Linked DNA regions of Homo sapiens: region 2 is linked to region 1. Evidence: promoter capture Hi-C in human tissues and cell types (Jung and others, 2019). All regions are on one chromosome and are shown on one strand. The core of a region is centred on a gene start or on the middle of the fragment in contact, and the rest is flanking DNA. Distances in the headings are between cores, read along the strand shown.

What was found. The method cuts DNA at HindIII sites, captures the fragments that hold promoters and counts their contacts. A contact is called where the count stands out against the background at its distance.
Region 2: a fragment that was not itself captured here is called in contact with the fragment with the promoter of LARP6 in region 1 in 1 of the 25 tissues and cell types used here (spleen).

The regions. Positions count from the first base shown.
Region 1 is chr15:70,852,848-70,857,266 of GRCh38, reverse strand. LARP6 (La ribonucleoprotein 6, translational regulator) reads left to right here and starts at 3,110. Exons shown (of 3, transcript NM_018357.4): 1 at 3,110-3,378. The coding sequence starts at 3,179. It also overlaps a transcript of LRRC49 not described here. RefSeq lists an enhancer at 3,220-3,721. The HindIII fragment of the contact is 12,354 bases long and covers 1-4,419 here.
Region 2 is chr15:69,464,144-69,468,929 of GRCh38, reverse strand. No RefSeq gene overlaps it. Among named protein-coding and RNA genes, the nearest start is that of LINC02896, 3.8 kb to the right of the region's middle. RefSeq lists an enhancer at 388-587. The HindIII fragment of the contact is 4,515 bases long and covers 614-4,786 here.

The DNA of each region.
Region 1 (4,419 bases), core at 1,861-4,360:
ATTTCCAATTGATTCCAAACAACACCCTTGTATATACTGGAAAGGTCTTCTAGGGTTGAGTTTTTCCTTCAACCTAATCTCAGTCCATCCTGATGGCTTGTCAATGTGCTTCCTTTTGTTTCATCCTCAGGAGCTATGGAAAAAGCTGTTTCCCCTTGTGAGTTTACTATGAAAATGAGCTGTCAAGATTCCAGGGAAGGGAAAGATGCCAACTCCAGGCTGAGGTCATGATTTTGTTTAAAGAGGCTTTGCTAATCATCTCAGTGGTGATGCAAACTCCCTGCAATGATGTTCAAGACAGGCCTGGGTGGGACTGGCCTCCCTTCCCCTGCCACGGCTCTGGGGAGGAATAAGCTGGAAATCGAAAGGAGCCCTTTAAAAGCCCTGGTTTCTTCACCAGTGACACAAATGATGGGTATGTGGGTAGGACTAATCAAAGCAAATCAGCAAGTGTTCCTAGATGAAGGCTCCCTGCTAGACAAAATCGGGTGCAACAAAGTGGAAGAAGAGGCCCTTCCCTCTAAGCCTCACTGGGACTCACTCTCCTCATTGCAAACGTGATCGAGTTGGACTTCTCCCATGAAATACCCCTAGTGCAAATGAGGGTTTCTGTCCTCCGCTCCTCTAGGCATTATTCTAAGCCAACTACTATAAATGAGAAACTTATGTGAGTTGCCTTAAACATTCCGTGCAAGTTTTGCATTTGATTTCACAGATATTCCAAGTTGTTTTAATATATACATTGTGGCTGTTCTCTCAAATAGCTAAGTAAAATTGATACCCCAGAAAGATGCCCCATATTTATGCTATGACTTAATGGGTACCCCTAAGAGTACCCATTCTTGGGTACTCTGCCAGACTACCCATTCCCTACCAGGAGCAGCTCCGAGCTGGATGATGTCTGACATTCTTTCTAGATCCAAAATTCCTTTATGAGGAGTCAGAAATAAGTAATAACAGAAACAACATAGGCAGATATGTTTGAATGTAAGGACATATAAATTCAATTTCTTTTTTTCAAAACTCTCACCAAGTAAAACGCTTCTACAGCCCAGATTCACCCACCAACTGTCAGTTTTCAAACTGTATTTTCAGAATCTATATTTTAAGAAAAGTCCCCAGGGGACTCTTATGATCAGGCATTTGGAAACCCTGAAAAGACATGTATGAATTGTTCATAAACTATAAAACCTGAGATGAATGTGAGCCATCATTGTGGGTAAGGATAACAACCCCTGATGTCTTTGCCACACGAGATGGCTTAAATGAGATAGATAATGGGTATCACTTTGTGAAATTCAGGAACCGAAATTATCAAACTGGAAGGCATGGTGGCTGCTGCAGCTCTTTCCTTCTGAGCCTCATCACAGGTGTTTGCAGAGGATCTATAGCCCTGGAGGGAGGCACAGCTGGCTGGAAAAAGACACTGTCAGCCTCTTGCCTCTTCCTTTCCCAGTAGCTCAGATCCAGGGCTGTGAGCTGTTCTGGTGCAGAAACAGCAATAGCACCAAAGGTCTCTCTCTCTTCCTTTACTTACTTATTTTAGGACCTCTTCTATCAAAACAGAGGTCCGACAAAGAAAGGGACACAGATTCTAGTGTCCTTAAGAAGAGGGGCTGTCCTCGCTGGGCCCCTGGGTCTCTCCCCAGCCCTGCCCAGACACCCAGGACCCTATACATGGTGTTCTTTTACAAGGACACTGCCCTCCAGGAGACCTCATTTCCTAAGCCTATCCTAACTTGTCTTTCTATATCAAAACAAATGTATTGGTCCAGGGTTCTGTTGTTTTGGGGTCCCAGTGTGGCAAATTAATATGATAAATTATGTTTAAGGCTCTAAATAAAGTGCTACATGAAAGCAGATTCAGGTCTTATTCATTTCTTTTTCTTCTTTCCTTCTTTCTTTTTTTTTCTTTTTCTTTTTTTTTTTTTTGAGACGGAGTCTCGCTCTGTTGCCCAGGCTGGAGTGCAGTGGCACAATCTCGGCTCACCACAACCTCTGCTTCCCAGGTTCAAGTGATTCTCCTGCCTCAGCCTCCCGAGTAGCTGGGATTACAGGCACGTGCCACCACGTCCAGCTAATTTTTGTATTTTTTTTAGTAAAGACAGGGTTTCACCATGTTGGCCAGGATGGTCTCGATCTCTTGACCTCGTGATCCGCCCGCCTGGGCCTCCCAAAGTGCTGAGATTACAGGCTTGAGCCACTGCGCCCGGCCGGTCTTATTCATTTCTATGCTCCTGTCCCTAGTTTCTGGGTCACATTTGGAGAGGTGAGATGGAACTCAATTTGAAGTTACACGTGAAAAGGTGGCAGTGTTTTAGAACATCCTGACATTTCAATAGCTCCCTTTATTCATTCAACAAACATCTGAGTGCATACTATGTGCAGGGCATACTCTATAGGCCATCGGCTTTCGAACTTTTGTGAACTTCAGCATCACCTAGAGGCCTTGTTAAAACACAAAGTTCTGAATCATAGATTCTGATTCAGGAGGTCTGGATGAGCCCTGAGAATTCAATTTCTAACAAGTTCCCCGGTGCAGCTGATGCTCCTGGTCTGGGAACCACACTTGGAGAAAAACTGATACAGGGCAAGGCAGGAGCCAAGCCCCTGACCTCCTAAGACGCGGTCTAGGGTGGTTATTATGTCAAGGAGACTAACGATGGAAATTTTCTGATCTTGGCAGGCCAGTGGGGGAGACACGCAGGAGGCCTGGAAGCCCCTGGAGCTGTGGTCTCTGGCTGCCACCCCCGGAGTCAAGCACAAACAGAAGTCAGCTGTGCTGCGCCCATCCCTGCGGCGCCGTGAAAGAAGGCGCAGGAGGAGGGAGCCCTGACACCTCCTCTCGGGCTGGGGCCCCACAGCGGCGAAAAGACGGAGGGAGTGATCGGGGGTCGCGGGGATCCTTCCGGGACGGGCCTCCGTCGGAGGAGCTCCGGAAAGCCGCCCTCCACCTCCGAGGCCCCGCCTGCGCGGGCGCTCCACTAGCGGTCGGGGTGGTGGCGGCGGCGGCGGCGGCGGCGGCGGCGCGGGGCGGGGCGCCGCGACCCCTGTCCCTCCCCTGGGCCGAGCGGCAGGCGCGCTCGCACCGCCCCCGCCCCCTCGTCGCAGTCGCTGCCGACCGGCTGGCTGGGCCTTGCGGCGTGAGGACCCCGGCGGCGCCGCAGTCCCGCGAGCCATGGCCCAGTCCGGCGGGGAGGCTCGGCCCGGGCCCAAGACGGCGGTGCAGATCCGCGTCGCCATCCAGGAGGCCGAGGACGTGGACGAGTTGGAGGACGAGGAGGAGGGGGCGGAGACTCGGGGCGCCGGGGACCCGGCCCGGTACCTCAGCCCCGGCTGGGGCAGCGCGAGCGAGGAGGAGCCGAGCCGCGGGCACAGGTAGGCGCGGCGGCTGGCCCGGGAGGTGGGCCCCGAGGGGGCGCCGGGCCGCGCGCGAGTTCGGGGCGCTGACTGCGCGCGACAACTCCTCGGGCAGAGGGGGTTGAGTCAGCCCCGCCGCCGGGGAAGCAGCTCCGGGCCGAGCCCCTGAGTCAGAACCGGCCCGTGGAGGCAGCCGGTGCCCCAGCCCGCAGCTTCGTCGCCCAACCGAGGCTCCCAGGGCTGGCGGCCGGGATCTGAGGGGCCTGGACGTGGGGATGTTCAGGGATCCAGGAGGAGGACTTTCACGGGCCATCCAAGCCACCCCCTCCTCTGGAGGAGGCCTCTTCTCTGTGGGCTCCCTCAAGACACCACCTCCCCATCGCCGCAAAGTCCATCCCTACCCGCCTTCCCCTCCCCTTGCGAGTGGTCCCGCTTACCCTTCACTGCCATCATCGCCCTGCCTTTCCCAGTCCTGCTGGCTGCGCTCAGTCTTTAGGTGGTAGCAGGCCAGGTACAGCGGACACTTGCTGATGGGGGATTCCAGGAGGTGGGATTTCAAGGTAATTTGAGACGGATAGAGGACTTGCTGCTTTACTTCCTCCGCCCTGGGGGATTCCCATTTTCACACAGCCTTTCCCACCAGACCTTTATGTTTGCATCATCTTGCTGCCTTGCGGGGGGCGGGGGGGGGGTGTTCCTGGGTTTTGGGTAGTTTGGAGCTGCTATGGCACTTGTTTAACCTTGTCCCGGGTCCCGAGCTTTGTCCTCAGGCACCTTGGCTCCTGTCCACTAATGCCCAGGCCCTTAAGGACTGGTGTTTTGTTCCTGCTGTTGAAAGGAGATAAAACATAGACATAGACATGAGAGTGGGGAAATGACAGAACTTGCACATTCTGGTGGATGCCAACAGGCACTTATTAGGAGCTCTCTTTCTTCTAGGACCCTGTCCCAGGCGTTTAGCTGTTAAGGTTCTGCAGGATTGTCCTGGCAAGCGTATATCTACTTCACTGGGAGAATACTCAACTCAAGGGTGGAAGAATACTGGGCCCAGAGCCATTC
Region 2 (4,786 bases), core at 1,622-4,121, 1.4 Mb after region 1:
GCAAACAGCCACGGAGCAAGACGCACACACTTCTCACCCATTCCCAGCCAAGGGGAACGGGCTATAGTTTGTTGACAGAGAGAAAAGTAATCAATTTTTCATTACCCAGTGAAGGCAACAGAATGTCTCAGGATGTCAACAGTTTCCAGGCAACAAAGACAAACCAAATACACAGGCCCCTCACCTGAAAGCTGTTTCCTTTACAAGCATCAGCTTGAATGAGAGGAGGTAATGAGAGAGGCAGAGGCAGGTGAAACCACTTGGCAGCCGCAGCGTATGAGTCAGACGCTGGGGCTCTGTGGTTGTCTGCAGTGACCCCATTAGCAGATCTCATCAGACTACGTACGACTCAAAGCAGAGCCTGCACTGGGGGAGGATTCAGGCACAAGATGTCGGAGCAAGACCGGAGAGAGTGGCTAATGTGGCTTATTCATTCATTTATTCAGCAAACATTTTTTAGGGCTCTTAGGCCCTGGGCTCAGGCCTGAGGCCCCAGTCTAGCTGAGGAGATGAGCGTGGAGACAGCGTCCCCTTACCTTAGGGATGAGAAGACTGACAACCACAGAGAGGAAGTGACTGTCCCAAGATCACAGAACCACACGGGGCACTTGGCAGCTGTGCCGCAGGTCTCCAGCATGCAGCAGGCCTATGCACATGGAAGGAGGCTCAGGAAGCGGCCGGCACAGACGTAGTCTCATCGAGAATTAACACAGGGAGCTTTCCAGAGACCTTTAGCAAAAGTGTTCAGATACTGAACCTAAAAAGTAAAAGGAGATCATTAGAATCTCTTATGGTGCCTATATTATTGTTATTTTTAACTCTCAAGGTGATTCTAACCAAAACAGAAAGGATGGCCCTTTCTGGAGCTCCTTCCCCAGCACAATGTCGGGCCTCAGAGCTCCCAGGATGTCTCCTTGTGTTTGCGTTAACGTTTCTCAGTGAGTGTCAATGGAGACTCGAGAATAAGTCAACACAGGTCCTCACAATAAATGCCAAGGCTTGTTAGCAGAGTAAACCGTGTGCTTAGCCCGTCTTAAAAGAATCTTTGCTGAGTAAACACAAGAAAGGTTTTACCTGAGAGTCAACAGAGCAAGGAGCTAATGGGCCCCGCCGGGCTGGAAGGTGACTCCACTGGCACCTGCCGCAGGGCCCAACAGGGGCCCTGGGAGGGGAGTCGGGATTGGCCATGTGGGAGCTGGAGCATCCTCAAAAGCCCTTCATGGCAACGTGAGGACACCAGGGGCCAGAGAGGTCAGGGGGCTTGTCGAAGGCCCCACAGCTTGTTGAAACAGAACTAAATCTCTCTTACCCAGCAGCCTCTGCTCGCCCAGGGAGCCCAGTCTCTTGGTGAGGAGGCAAAAACCCAGTCCACAGAAAGGAGGTCCTGGGAATCAATCCCATTTGCTCTGAAGTATGAAGAAACTGATGTCTTATCCTTCCCAGGGCAGTTTTGGTATTTAAAGAAGACTGCAGGGAAATGAAGCCCTAATGGTGGCATGTCTGAAATGACAGCAGAGGGAAAATATTTTGGGTCCGAATAGGGCTTCTAGCTTTTTCGGTCTCTGAATGTTCACACTGATTCAATATTATCCTTGGTGACAGTGGATAAAAAACAAGCCTCGTGGTGAAACCCCGTCTCTACTAAAACTACAAAAATCAGCCGGGTGTGGTGGTGCGCGCCTATAGTCCCAGCTACTCGGGAGGCTGAGGCAGGAGAATCGCTGGAACTCAGGAGGCGGAGGTTGTAGTGAGACGAGATCATGCCACTGCACTCCAGCCTGGGTGACAGAGAGACTCCATCTCCAAACAAACAAACAAACAAAAAACAAGCCTGAACTGCTTTCTGTCTTTTCACCACACCTCACAACTTCTTTGATGGCCTGATATGCATGAGGTTCTCATTTTCCCAAGTAAAGAAAAATTATGACCTGAAATCTTGGACCTATAAGCTTGTTAGTCTCAAAACCCAAGTACAACCACTAACTTAATATCTCATTTAACGTGCCACCAGAAAAAAACCTTCCAATATTCAATTTTTCATTTAATTTGTGAATTCCTTTCCTCTTTCTCAAAAGAATTTGAGTATAGATCAAAGTACAACGATGCAGTAAAGTCAATAAAAAAGCTGCCAAAATTTTTATTTTAAAAATCAGTACCAAGAAAAGGAGGAGGAGGTAAACACCTTATCCATTTGGGTTAATTTAATTACTGAGATTGGGCACCTGGTCTGGTACTGAATTTCTCAGCAGCTGAAGCAGAGAAGAGAGAGTGTGAAGTCACAGAGCTCTCGTTATCATACAGGAGGATGCAGACTAATGCCCCAGAGGACACAAACTTTCTCCTGCCCCTAAATTTTACAAGAATTTTTCACATGAGACCTTATTTAGGAGACCATAACAATATAAGAGCCTGCTCAAGTTTTCTGGCAAAAGCAGAAATGGTTTTCATGTGGCCTTTTCTTCCAACAACCTTTGAGGAAAACCAAGGGTGCACCAGATTGCACAGTGATTCAGTGACATCTTTCTTTGTTTTTAAACAAGAAATGAACTTGAGCATTTGCAGAGGCAAAGTGAAGCGTGCTAAGTAAATTACAAGGGAGGGAAGACCATATTAAAGTGCTCTTGGTTTCCTCTTGGCTGGGTCATGGGAGGGCACACAAACATGCTTTCCTTACTAAGGTGTGGACTGACTCACTCATCCTTCGGCCAAGCAGCCAGGCAGCTCTGACTGTGGAACTCACACCCTAGCCTAGAAGCACTCTAGCGTGAAGGGGTCAACCCCAGTAGCCCTTCCCAGGATTGGCCACTATGGGGCAACACTGAGCCAGCATCTGGAAAACAAAAATTCCTTTTGTCAGCAAAGCCATCCAGCATGTATGAAATTCTACCAACCCAATAATTCCATTAATTCTGAAAATCCAATATTTGACCTTCTCCATAAAGGGTGTAAAAATAAAACAGCCTTTCTAATTGTAGAAACTGTTTCTTTGATTTCCTTTTTATTTTATTTATTTTATTTTTTGAGACAGTCTCTCTCTGTCATCCAGGATAGAGTGCAATGGCGCAATCTTGGTTCATTCCAACCTCCAGCTCCAGGGTTCAAACAATTCTCATGCCTCAGCCTCCTGAGTAGCTGGGACTACAGGCACACGCCACCACACCCGGCTCATTTTTGTATTTTTAGTAGAGGTGGGTTTTTGCCATGTTGGCCAGGCTGGTCTCCAACTGCTGGCCTCAAGTGATCCACCTTCCTCGGCCTCCCAAAGGAGTGAGTCACCGTGCCCTGCCACTTTTTAACTTTTTAGCCACCAATTCATATGAGATAGCAAAGAAAAGCTCAACAGTTTTTGAACAGTAACTATGCTGTTTTATATGTGCCATCTCACTTAATTCTAAAAGAACTCTATGAGGTAGGTGTCAACATGATCCCCACTATGCATATGATGGAACTGAGGCACAGAGAGGTTAAATAACTCACTCAAAGTCACACAGCCCTATTTAGCGGCAATGGGATTTGAGCCAGCCCAGGTAGTCTGATATCAGAGCATTTAACCCTGTGTCCCAGAAGACTTACATGATCTCATAGCTAGAGGAAGCATCTAGTTCACTTCCTCCTGGAGCAACACTGTCTTCCATATCCCAGCCTCAGCCTAACACCTAGCAAAGCTTTTCCTTATTTTTCTTATTTTGACCTAAAACTGTCTCAAAACTGGTCAGAGTTCTTCCTTCTAGAACTACTTGGAAGTTGAGTCTCTCTTCCACATGAAACCCTCTCCAATTTTTAAAAAATCAAAACCAGTGTTTTTAATTTAGAAAAGTAATGTATGTTCATGGTCTTTAAAAATTCAAGCAATATAAAAAGGATAAACTGGAAAGTAAAAATATTTCTTCCACCCCATCCAATCCCTGTCCTCAGAAGTAACCACTATAATTACTCTTGAATCCTCCCAGAAGTTTTTTAATACTATAAAACATATGCACATTTTTTTTATTTTTTTACTCAAATAGGGTCATGTTATGCATACTGGTGGCAACTTACCTTTTTTCACTTAACAAGGTGTCCTGGATGTCTTTCCATAGCGGCATTCCTATACATAGCTACATGAAAACATTAACATTTATTCAACCTGCCTATCATCCATACTTTTTTTCTAATACAAGCAATACTTCAGTGAAATTGTACATAGCATAGGTTCCTACAAATGAAATTCCTGGATAGAGGGTAAGCGCACTTTTGAGAGAGAGGACCAAATGACCCTAAAAAAATTGTAGTAGTTCTGGCCGGGCTCGGTGGCTCACGCCTATAATCCCAGCACTTTGAGAAGCCGAGGCGGGCAGATCACGAGGTCAGGAGATCAAGACCATCCTGGCTAACATGGTGAAACCCTGTTTCTCCTAAAAATACAAAAAATTAGCAGGGCGTGGTGGCGGGCGCCTGTAGTCCCAGCTACTCGGGAGGCTGAGGCAGGAGAATGGCGTGAACCCGGGAGGCGGAGCTTGCAGTGAGTTGAGATCGCACCGCTCCACTCCAGCCTAGGCGACAGAGCAAGACTCCATCTCAAAAAAAAAAAAAAAAAAAAAAAAAAACAAAACAAAACTGTAGTAGTTCAAACTCAAACAGGCTGAAGAAAACATTTAAAAATTAAAAAAAAAAATTGGAACTTGTAGTGATGGCACAGTGGCTCACCACCTGTAATCCAGCTACTTGGAGACTGGGGCAGGAAGGTTGCTTGAGCCCCAAGGAGGTCGAGGCTGCAGTGAGCCTTGATCACACCACTGCACTCCAG